Linked DNA regions of Homo sapiens: regions 2 and 3 are each linked to region 1. Evidence: promoter capture Hi-C in 16 types of primary human blood cells and fetal thymus (Javierre and others, 2016). All regions are on one chromosome and are shown on one strand. The core of a region is centred on a gene start or on the middle of the fragment in contact, and the rest is flanking DNA. Distances in the headings are between cores, read along the strand shown.

Region 1 (3,652 bases), core at 398-2,897:
CTTGAGTCCACCTTGTGCCAGATCAGCAGTGCCACCCAGGCTCTGCCTCCTGGTGTTACTCTTTGCCAACAGCTTTACGGACATTGGATGAAGCCGAAGCATTTAGAATGGTGCCTGGCACACAGTTGGTGCGTGATATGGTTAAGCTTTGTGTCCCCACCCACATCTCATCTTGAATGGTAATCCTGGGTGTTTAGGGAGAGACCTGGTGGGAAGTGATTGGATTATGGGAGCGGTTTTCCCCCATGCTGTTCTCATGATAGTGAGTGAGTTCTCACGAGATCTGATGGTTTTACAAGTGACGGTTTCCCCGGCTCCCTCCTGCCGCCATGTGAAGAAGGTCGTTGCTTCCCCTTCACCTTCCACCACCATGATTGTAAGTTCCTTTTTTCTTTTCTTTTCTTTTTTTTTTTTTTTTTTTTGAGATGGAGTCTCGCTCTGTCGCCCAGGCTGGAGTGCAGTGGCGCAATCTCAGCTCACTGCAAGCTCTGCCTCCCAGGTTCGCGCCATTCACCTGCCTCAGCCTCTGGAGTAGCTGAGACTACAGGCGCCCACCACCATGCCCGGCTAATTTTGTTTGTATTTTTAGTAGAGATGGAGTTTCACCATGTTGGCCAGGGTGGTCTCAATCTCCTGACCTCGTGATCCACCCACCTCGACCTCCCAAAGTGCTGAGATTACAGGCGTGAGCCACCGCGCCCAGCGATTGTTTCTTGAGGCTTCCCCAGCCATATGGAACTATAAGTCAATTAAACCTCTTTCCTTTTATAAATCACCCAGTCTCGGGTATTTCTTTATAGCAGTGTGAACATGGACTATAATCCAGTGCTCAATAAGTACTCCTCACATTTAGCTATCTCAGTCAAGGGTGAGCTAGATAAGGGCTTTGGCCAGGGCAGGATCACCACCCACCAGCCCATGGCAAACTGCAAAAGGACGGCCTTCCACGGAGAACATGTAGCCCTGACTGCAATTAATGTGTCCTGGGCCAGTCCCCTTGTGCAGTACACAGCCTGCACAACCCTTGGTGGTTGCCTGAACAAGGTGCTTGCTAAATATTTGTTGACTGATGGAAGAAATTCATGAACTTAATCCTGATAAAAAACCTCAGAGGTTTTTTATTTTTTGAGACAAGGTCTGGCTCTGTCGCCCAGGCTGCAGTGCAGTGGTACAGTCTCCACTCACTGCAGCCTCCCAGGTTCAAGCGATTCTCCCACCTCAGCCTCCGGAGGAGCTGGGATTATAGACCTGTGCCACCACGCCCGGCTAATTTTTGTATATTTAGTAGAGACAGGGTTTTTGCCATGTTGGCCAGGCTGGTCTCGAACTCCTGACCTCAAGCGATCCTCCCCACCTCGGCCTCCCAAAGTGCTGGGATCACAGGCGTTAGCCACCTCCTAGCACCTCAGGTTTTTTACCTTTGAGTCTATGAAGCCTGCGGAGGTCACGCCCTAGGGAAAGAAGGAGCCCACTGGGTGTCAGGTCCTGCCTCTAGGGAGGGGACCGCGGGTCAAGGGTGGAGCCCTGGGCCGCATAAGGAAGGAACTAGTGCGGAGGTCCGGGGAGCGGCCGCGCGTTCGGGAGCTTCGGCCCTGCGTAGGAGGCGGGTGCAGGTGTGGGTGCTGAGCCGCCCGCCGCCTGGAGGGGGAGACAGCTTCAGGACACGCAGGCCGCAGCGAGGGCCCGGGCCCTGGGGATCCCAGGTTCGTCTTCCCGCGGCGAGGGTTAGGGGCCGGGCCGAGAGGGACGGCAGCGGGGTCCGGGGCGGGGGTGGGGACCGAGCGCAGCGCGTGACGCGGCGGCGGGGCCCAGCGACAACGAAGCCGAGGCCGTAGGCTCGGGCCGACCTGGAGCTCCGCCGCTGCGCCCAGGTCGCGTCCCCGGGGGGACGGGCGGCGGGCGAGTGGGGAGCCGGGGTCTCCGGCGCCTGGGCGTTCACGGAGCCTGCGGGCGCTGGTCCGGGCGGCCAGGGGTGGGGGGCGCGGGCGGCTGGGCCCGGACTTCGACTGGGGGCCTGGCCCCGGGGCCACCCAGGCGGAGGCTCTGCGGCCGCCTCCACCCCGGCCACATCCCGAGGCCGGCGCCGGGTTCGGAGAACTGTCAAGGGACCTCCAGGCCCCCACACGCCTGCGAGATCCGGCGCTTGCCTTGCCCCAGCCACAGTTTCTGTTTCCGAGAAACCGGTGAAGTAACAATGCCACTAGAGCTTGCTGGGAGGGTGGGTGCGGAGAAGGCGAGCACGAGACGCCGGGCCGGGCAGTTGGGGACCCCGATCGGTGTGAGAGGGCTTCCTAGGGCTGGCATGGACTTCCCCACCACAAAATGCCCAGGGCCGGGGGGGGGAAGGGGCGCAAGAAAATGCGGACTGGGCCAGAGACCAGACTTCGGTCACCACGGTGGGAAGCTATTGGTGCCTAGATGCCTCTAGCTTGGAGCCCAGTGACTTTTATTTCGTCTAGAGTCTAGACAGTGCCTTTAGAAGCTGCCAGCATTTATTTATTTATTTATTTATGGCAGAGTCTTGCTCTGTCACCCAGGCTGGAGTGCAGTGGCATGATCACGGCTCACTGCAGCCTCGACTTCCTGGGCTCAAGCGTTCCTCCTGCCTCAGCCTCCTGCATAGCTGGGACTACAGGCACGGGCCACCAGGCCTAGCTAATTTCTTTTTTTTTTTTTTTTTTTTTTTTTTTGAGACGGAGTGTCGCTCTGTCGCCCAGGCTGGAGTGCAGTGGCGCGATCTCAGCTCACTGCAAGCTCCGCCTCCCGGGTTCAGGCCGTCCTCCTGCCTCAGCCTCCCGAGTAGCTGGGACTACAGGCACCTGCTTCTCGAGTAGCTGGGACTACAGGCACCTGCAACCAAGCCCGGCTAATTTTTTGTATTTTTAGTAGAGATGGAGTTTCACTGTGTTAGCCAGGACGGTCTCGATCTCCTAACCTCGTGATCCGCCCACCTCGGCCTCCCAAAGTGCTGGGATTACAGGCGTGAGCCACCGCGCCCGGCCTTTTTTTTTTTTTTTTTTTTTTTTGAGACAGATTCTCACTCTGTTGCCCAGGCTGGAGTGCAGTGGCACGATCTCGGCTCACTGCAACCTCCGCTTCCCGGGTTCAGGTGATTCTCCTGCCTCACCCTCCCGAGTAGCTGGGACTACAGGCGTCCGCCACCACGCCCAGCTAATTTTTGTATTTTTAGTAGAGACGGGGTTTCGCCATATTGGCCAGGCTGGTCTCGAACTCCTGATCTTGTGATCCGCCCGCCTCGGCCTACCGAAGTGCTGGGAATACAGGCCTGAGTCTGTGCACCCGACCTAATTTCTTTTTTTCTAGAGACAGAGTCTCACTATGTTGCCTAGACTACAAGCATTTTTAATTGACAACTTTTACATTTTTTTTCAAATGCTTACAGTTGCTTCTCAGAACTTAGAAGACTTGGCCACATTGGGTTTTTTTGTTATTTTTTTTTTCCATCAAAGCATTTTTCTTTTCTCTTTTTTTTTTTTTTTTTTTTTGAGACAGTTTTGCTCTGTTGCCCAGGCTGGAGTGCCATGGAGCAATCATGGCTCACTCTGCTCCAGCAGGCTCCTTCTTTCCCTAGAGTGTGACCTCGGCAGGCCTCATGGACTGTAAGGTAGAAAAATCTGAGGGGCTGGGTTCG
Region 2 (3,770 bases), core at 867-3,366, 520 kb before region 1:
CGAGATCATCCTGGCTAATACGGTGAAACCCCGTCTCTACTAAAAAATAAAAAAAATAATAAAAAAAAAATTAGCCAGGCGTGGTGGTGGGCGCCTGTAGTCCCAGCTACTCAGGAGGCTGAGGCAGAAGAATGGCGTGAACTTGGGAGGCGGAGCTTGCAGTAAGCCGAGATCGTGCCACTGCACTCCAGACTGGGGGACTCAGCGAGACTCCGTCTCAAAAATAAATAAATAAATAAATAAATAAAATAAAATAATAAAAAAGTGAATTAATTATCAAAGGGGCTTAAGCTAATTTTACATCTAACAACTATAGAGAGTCAGGTTGGGGACGGCTGCCTAAGGGTATTTCACTCACAGTACCCTTAACCTGAGATTCTATCAGCAAATCTCCGTTGTGTTTCACAGTGGATTTGGCTGTGGCTTGCAGGGAAGTTAAAATGTATCAGAAGGCCAGGCATGGTGGCTCATGCCTGTAATCCCAGAACTTTGGGAGCAGAAGCAGGCAGAACTCCTTTTTTTTTGGAGATGGAGTATCATTCTGTCCCTCAGGCTGGAGTGCAGTGGCGCAATCTTGGCTCACTGCAACCTCTGCCTCCCAGGTCCAAGCGATTCTCCTGCCTCAGCCTCCCAAGGAGCTGGGATTACAGGTGTGCGCCACCACGCCTGGCTAATTTTTGTATTTTTTTCTTTTAGCAGAGAGGGGGTTTCTCTATGTTGGCCAGGCTAAGTCTCAAACTCCTGACCTCAAGCAATCCACCTGCCTCAGCCTCCCAAAGTGCTGGGATTACAGGTGTGAGCCACCATGCCTGGCCAAGTGAACTCCTTTTTCATCCTTGTTGATAAGAAGTCAGACTCAGAAGGGGAGTTCCTGAGATCTACTGCTTCATGGTAAATTCCATGAACCCATGGAGCTGTCCTCCATGGAGATAAACTTAAAAGTCTAGCGACAATGATCTCAGGCTTTTAGCTATGATAAGATGCAGTCTGAGCCTGACTGGAGAACCCAAGGCTAGAAGAGACCCAGCGCCAGTAAGGCTGACCTCTCTAACTGCCCTATGGGAGGGTCTTAGGAACCAAAAGCATTGGTGCAACTCCAAAGAAAAGTAACAAACATGTATTTTTCCACTACTATAATACTGGTTGGGGATTTTAATTTAAATGATTTGACCACAAAATGGCAGTTTTCTAGCCCCAGCAGTTCATTTGACAGCAAGCCATCCACAAGAGCCAAATTTCCACTATAAATGTAATGCTTTACTTTCAGGCCTTGGACCACATTTTTCCATCCCATGAAGTGTGACAACAATGATTTCGAAAGTTAAAATAACAGAAAAAAGTACACTGAGTGATTGTTTTTTGTGACTTCTCACCAATAGTTAGGTTCTCCCAGATGCTGAAATAATTTGGCCTCCTGTAAGCCAAAAAGCATCTTGCTGCCTCAAGATAGGAAAGTCACGAAGGCTTAAGGTGGTGGCAGTGTCCTGGACCCAGTAAAGTCAGACAGGCATCTCTCTTCCCAGGACTCATTCCATGCCTCCCCTCTCCTCTAAGTCTACATTTGGATCAAGTCCCACTTGTCAGACTGTCAGAAGGTTCATCAGATCTCTGCTGTAGAAACTCTTTATTATAGGCATTTCAAAGAATTGGGGTGTGTACAAATCAAGTGGGAAATGCTTATTTGTGGAATTCTTTCTGGTGCCCAGGAGACAATTTTCCATCAAAACATTCACTGGGCATTTCATAATTACTAATAAAACATGTAAAAGAACTGTATGTGCTCATTTCAGAGCCATAAATGACTGTATTCATAGATGTTCCTTTGCCCATTGCTCTTTCCTGTCCAGGGGAATGTGCCCTGAGCTTCCTAGGCAGGAATGTGTTTGGAGTCAAAAGGTTTTGTCGCAGCCTACTGAGACGCCTGGAAGCACAAACTTCGATTGGTCTGAAGCGAGAATTTGGAATTAGCAATTAGGTGGGGATCTAGTTGAGAGGAAATGGTTTATAATTGCGGGGATGGATTATGATAGGTAGGGAGACAAATGGTTTCTGGAGTGGTAAAGGCTTTCTCTCTTTTTTCTTTTGCTGATGAACTTCCTATCCTACCCACTCAAGGAATGGGATAACTGGCCATCCTTCCCAGAACATTTAGACTCCTGACTCCCAGACCTGGAGTGACAGTTTCTCATGTTAAAATGATCAGAATGTGAGAATGAAAACACTGATGGAGGACTTGGGAAAGCTTCTTCTCTACAAGCGGAAACTGCAGTGGAAAAAAAGTCTCAATAGAGGCGACAGGATGACTCTGACCTAAGTAGCTATAAATAGCAGGAGTTGGCCAATGAGAACCTAAGGCAACCCCATCTGAAAAGCTGGTGCAGGTGGCCTCCAAGTGTAGTTAGAGCAGTGGTTCTTAGCTTTGGCTGGTGGAATCATCTGGGGGAACCTGAAAAGATACTGATCCTGAGTCTCTCCCCAGAAATTTAATTGGCCTGGGGAATAGCCTGGGCATCAGGATTTTAAAAAGCTCTGCAGGTGATTCTACTGTGCTGCTAAGGTTGAGAACCACTGATTTTGAGGTTATGATTCCTAACTGACTGGTCACAGGTGTCACTTACTAAAAAACATTTTTTTTAATTCCTAGAGAAGAGAATAAGAAGAGACTGGAAAATTGGTCATTCTCTCACAGCTTAAGTTTAGGTGAGGAGCCTTTGAGTATTCTGCTTTGTATGCAAGCCAAGCAATACACTGGTGGAGGAGGCAGGAAAAGCAAGTTGAGTAAGAGCCAGGGTGGAGGGGGGCACTCACCCAGGTCCTGGAAGGGGTAGGGGTAGGTGGGTGAACTGGGGCTTTCTACCAAGCTCACCTGCAGTCTCTCCCACCAGATCTGGCGGATGATCTCTCGTCGCTCGGGGACAAGTTTGTACTGGATAACCTCCTCCAGCTCGGACAGCATGTGGCAAGAAACCATGGCCTGATGGAAGCAAATCGCATTCCAAACTAATTACTGCACGAACAATCCAAAAGACAGGATTAATTTAAATCATTCCTTCTGGTGTCAGGGTATCTGCCGATCAGAGAAAACAGGCATGTTTCCAGCAGCCTGTAAGTTCTCAATAGCCCATTCTGAAAAAAGTATGGAAATAAGCCTCAAAAATGACAATGTGCAGAATAGTTGACACTTACCCCATATGCCCGACTGTAACTCTCTCCTGCCATCGCAGTTAATTCAGCATCCAGCAGGTCCCTGGCCTTGTCAATGCACTAGAAGAGAAACAACCCTTGGGACTGAGCTCTGGACTTGGGAGCTTAGGGTTATTTTAGGGCACCCCAACTAGCTACAGAAGTTATCTGTCTCACTTAAATTCCAGGGATGAAAAGAGAAATTCGCTGAAGAAGGGCATTTTCCCAGAACTGAATGGCTTGAGAGGAGGTATTATCCAATTTCTCATCGAAGACAGAAATGTATGGCATCCAAAACTTTAACATCTATCTAAGGTAACACACAAAATCTTAGGTGGCAAGGGCATGGGAATGTGGGCTGTAAAACCGAATCATGGGTTCTTGCATCTCAAGAGGACATAACTGGGGATCTACCTTTTTTTTTTCTTCTGAGACACAGTCTCACTCTGTCACCCAGGCTGGAGTGCAGTGGTGTGATCTTGGCTCACTGCAGTCTCCACCTCCCGGGTTCAAGTGATTCTCTTGCCTCAGCCTCCCAAGTAGCTGGGATGCTGGGGTTACAGGCGCCCGCCACCACGCCCAGCTAA
Region 3 (3,484 bases), core at 972-3,471, 620 kb before region 1:
GGGTCAGCGCCAGCAGGTGGGGCTGCCCACGCCCCAGAGCACTGGCCCGTCCCACAGTGCAGGGAACCAGGGAACCAGGTCCCAAGGAACGAGGGCTAGATACCCCCGACTCTCCCGTGGCTACATGAGGGGTTCCCAGAGCCCAGGTGGAACCAGGTACACAGTGGGATGTTAGAATTAGTCTCAGTCGCTAGGGCAGGGTGGCACTGATGAGCCTGGCTGCTGAGAGGGGAAGCAGGGCTGAGAAGGGGAGCTGGAGGCAGCAGGGCCTAGAAGCACCCAGTGTCCAGGGCCCAGGCCCTCCGCACCCCTGGGCAGAGCAGCAATGGCCCTGAGGAGCCCCGGGTATCCCAGGAGAGGGTGCGTTGGGGCCCAGGCAGCCTCCCTCACCTGAGCAGGTGCGCTTGTTACGGTGCAGGACGTAGCCTGCGCGGCAGGAGCAGTAGAAACCGCCCAGGTGGTTGTGGCAGTGGTGGTCGCAGGTGGGCGCCTCTCCCGGGGCCACCTGGCACTCGTCAATGTCTGGGGGAGAGGCAGGGCCAGGCAGGCCGTCAGGAGGGAAAGAGGCGGGATCCAGCCTGGACTCCTCCCAGGAGATCCATGACCTCAGAGTGGACCTCAGAGGAGGCCTCGTCCTGTCTAGGGTGCGGGACTGGTGCCGGGCCAATCACCTTACAGGCCTAGGGTCGCTGCAAGCTCCCAGCAGCGCTGGGAGAAAGATGCAAACATCACCTCTGTTAAACCAGTGGGAGTTTCAGTGTCCGGCCCGAGGTCACCCAGCTAATGAGGGGAGTCAATCAAACCCAGGGGGCGGGGCTACAGCGCTGAACCCTTGCAGCAGCTTCCTAAGGAGCAGAGAAATTGAGCCACTTGCCAGAGGTCACACAGTTGGTCTCTGCAGGGACTGGGATCTGAAATCAAACATCCTGGCAGCGCTCCCGCTGGCAGGGCCCCACTTTGTCAGCTGTAAATGGGGCCCTCGGCCCCTGCGTCGTTTTTGTTTTTTGTTTTTTGAGACGGAGTCTAGCTCTGTCGCCCAGGCTGGAGTGTAGTGGTGCAATCTCTGTTCACTGCAGCCTCCACCTCGCAGGTTCAAGCAATTCTCCTGCCTCAGCCTCCCTAGTAGCTGGGATTCCAGGTGCGCACCACCACGCCCAGCTAATTTTTGTAGTTTTAGTGGAGATAGAGTTTCACCGTGTTGCCCTGGCTGGCCTTGAACTCCTGACCTCAAATGATCAGCCAGCCTCGGCCTCCCAAAGTGCTGGAATTACAGGCGTGAGCTGCTGCGCCCGGCCAGTCCCTGCGTCACTTGAGGCGATGCTGTCCTCAGATCCCTGGCTCAGAGTTGGCACTCAGCCCATGTGAATGGAGGTCACGGCTGTTTTGGTCTTTGCATTGTGGATGATGTCAGGCCAGAGGCCTCTCCCCTGCCCTGGGAAAGGTGGGGAAACTGAAGGCAGGGCTGCCTGGCCTAAGACAGAGTTACCCCCACAGCCAGCTGCGCAGACTGAGATGTTGCAGGACCCCTCTTGGCTCACCCTCGGCTGCATAGAAGGCCTCGAACCCCGTGAACGGCTTCTCGTTGGAGTAGTCGGAGCGGAAGGTAATGTCCAGGCTGGAGCCCAGCGAGTAGAAAGTGTCCTTGCCAGGGGCCCGCTCCGTGTCTGTGCTCTCCTGCCCGCACAGCGTGGCCAGCACCTTGGCCCCCGAGCTCAGCTGTGGGGTCAGGTGTCACAGGGAGTGAAGGCAAGACCCAGGCCTGATCTCCCTCCTGGCCAAGCCTGGCCCCTGCTCCCAGGTGTCCCTGAACCCTGGCTACTCCTTGGGGACCCCCCGACCCTGAGAAACCCCAGCCCTCCCGTCCTGACGGCACCTTGACGAAGTCGTACTCGCAGAGGTGGGAGAGCTCCAGGTCGAAGTGGGTGAAGTAGAGGCGCAGGCGGTAGCCGGGGGGTGCAGTCAGGGTCCAGCGCCGCTCCTGGTCATTGGCATACTCCCCTGGAAAGCCGGGGGATGCCAGGCGCCCGAACACAGGTTCAGGCCACTTCGGGCCCAAGGGGGTGGCCACCGAGCCACACAGAAGGCCCAGGAGGGTCAGCAGCCTATGGGCAGGGCAGGGGCGGTGAGGGCCCAGGCCTGTGCTCCCACCCCACACCCTGCAGGGAGGCTGTGGGCGCCCACCTACCTCATGGTGTGCCCGTCCAGCTGGCCTGGCCTGGTCTGCAGCCCTACGCTGGTCTCACCTTTGATCTGTTTGTCCAGTGACCTGCCCCTGCCCCCAGCCTCCCTGACTCTGGGATTCTGGGAATCGACTCCATGACTCCAGCCTGCTCAGAGTTCCAGGCAGGCAGGACAGGCTGCTCTGGGAGCCAGGAGTCGGACCTAGGTAACAACAGCCTGGAAACAAATCCTGGCTCTGCCCCTCACCCCTCCCTTTTTTTTGGATCTTGTTCTGTTGCCCCGGCTTCAGTGCAGTGCTGCAATCATAGCTCACTGCAGCCTCTACTTCCTGTGTTCAAGCAATCCTCCCACCTCAGCCTCCCAAGTAGCTGGGATTACAGGCGAGCACCACCACACCTGGCTAATTTTTTATTTTTGGTAGGGATGGGGTTTCTCCATGTTGGTCAGGCTGGTCTTGAACTCCTGCCCTCAGGTGATCCACCTGCCTTAGCCTCCCAAAGTGCTGGGATTACAGGTGTGAGCCACCGTGCCCAGCCTCAGGCTGGCTAATTTCTTAAACCCTGTCAGAAGGACCTGGTGCCACCAATTCCCGATTCCCTTGCAGGCTTAGAAGTCGCTTTTGGCTGGGCTCGGTGGCTTATACCTGTAATCCCAGCACTTTGGGAGGCCAAGGTGGGTGGATCACGAGGTTGGGAGTTTGAGACCAGCCTGACCAACATGGTGAAATCCCATCTCTACTAAAAATACAAAAATCATCCAGGTGTGGCAGCGCGCACTTATAATCCCAGCTACTCGGGAGGCTGAGGCAGGAGAATTGCTTGAGCCTGGGAGGCGGAGGTTGCAGTGATCCGAGATCGCACCACTGCACTCCAGCCTGGACGACAGAGTGAGACTCCACCTCAAAAAAAAAAAAAAAAAAAAAGAAGTTGCTTTCCAGGCAGTTATTTCACACCTGTTTATCTGTTCTTCCAGCTTCCAGAACTTTGAGGCTGCTGCTTCCTCTTCCACACTCTGTCCTCATGGATTCATGTCTTGTCTTTTTTTTTTTTTTATCCCCTTTATATTTGTTTTTGTTTTTTGTAGAGATGGGGGTCTCCCTGTGTTGCCCAGGCTGGTCTTGAACTCCTGAGCCAAAGCGATGCACCTGCCTCAGCCTCGCAAAGTGCTGGGATTACAGGTGTGAGCCACCAAACCTCTGCCTCCGGGGTTCGAGCAATTCTCCTGCCTCAGCCTCCCGAGTAGCTGGGATTACAGGCATGCGCCACCACGTCCGGCTAGTTTTGTATTTTTAGTAGAGACGGAG

The links. Contacts are between HindIII fragments. The CHiCAGO score rates a contact against its expected background, and 5 or more counts as called.
Region 2: the fragment with the promoter of MTOR-AS1 here is called in contact with the fragment with the promoter of FBXO6 in region 1 in 10 of 17 cell types (naive B cells, endothelial precursors, total B cells and 7 more); the score reaches 10.2 in naive B cells.
Region 3: a contact is called between the fragment with the promoter of MASP2 here and the fragment with the promoter of FBXO6 in region 1, in 6 of 17 cell types (naive CD8 T cells, fetal thymus, non-activated CD4 T cells and 3 more). The highest score is 6.3, in naive CD8 T cells.

Annotation. Positions count from the first base shown.
Region 1 is chr1:11,662,553-11,666,204 of GRCh38, forward strand. FBXO6 (F-box protein 6) reads left to right here and starts at 1,648. Exons shown (of 6, transcript NM_018438.6): 1 at 1,648-1,703. It overlaps FBXO44 (F-box protein 44), which reads left to right. Exons shown (of 6, transcript NM_033182.7): 6 at 1-775. RefSeq lists silencers at 1,714-1,933, 1,984-2,053 and an enhancer at 2,174-2,223. The HindIII fragment of the contact is 5,022 bases long and covers 145-3,652 here.
Region 2 is chr1:11,141,782-11,145,551 of GRCh38, forward strand. It overlaps MTOR-AS1 (MTOR antisense RNA 1), which reads left to right and starts at 2,117. Exons shown (of 4, transcript NR_046600.1): 1 at 2,117-2,206; 2 at 2,886-3,105; 3 at 3,372-3,498. It overlaps MTOR (mechanistic target of rapamycin kinase), which reads right to left. Exons shown (of 58, transcript NM_004958.4): 33 at 3,187-3,264; 34 at 2,867-2,974. The HindIII fragment of the contact is 11,786 bases long and covers 1-2,240 here.
Region 3 is chr1:11,045,018-11,048,501 of GRCh38, forward strand. MASP2 (MBL associated serine protease 2) reads right to left here and starts at 2,222. Exons shown (of 11, transcript NM_006610.4): 1 at 2,186-2,222; 2 at 1,874-2,102; 3 at 1,539-1,716; 4 at 391-522. The coding sequence starts at 2,190. RefSeq lists an enhancer at 727-1,559. The HindIII fragment of the contact is 27,395 bases long and covers 1-3,484 here.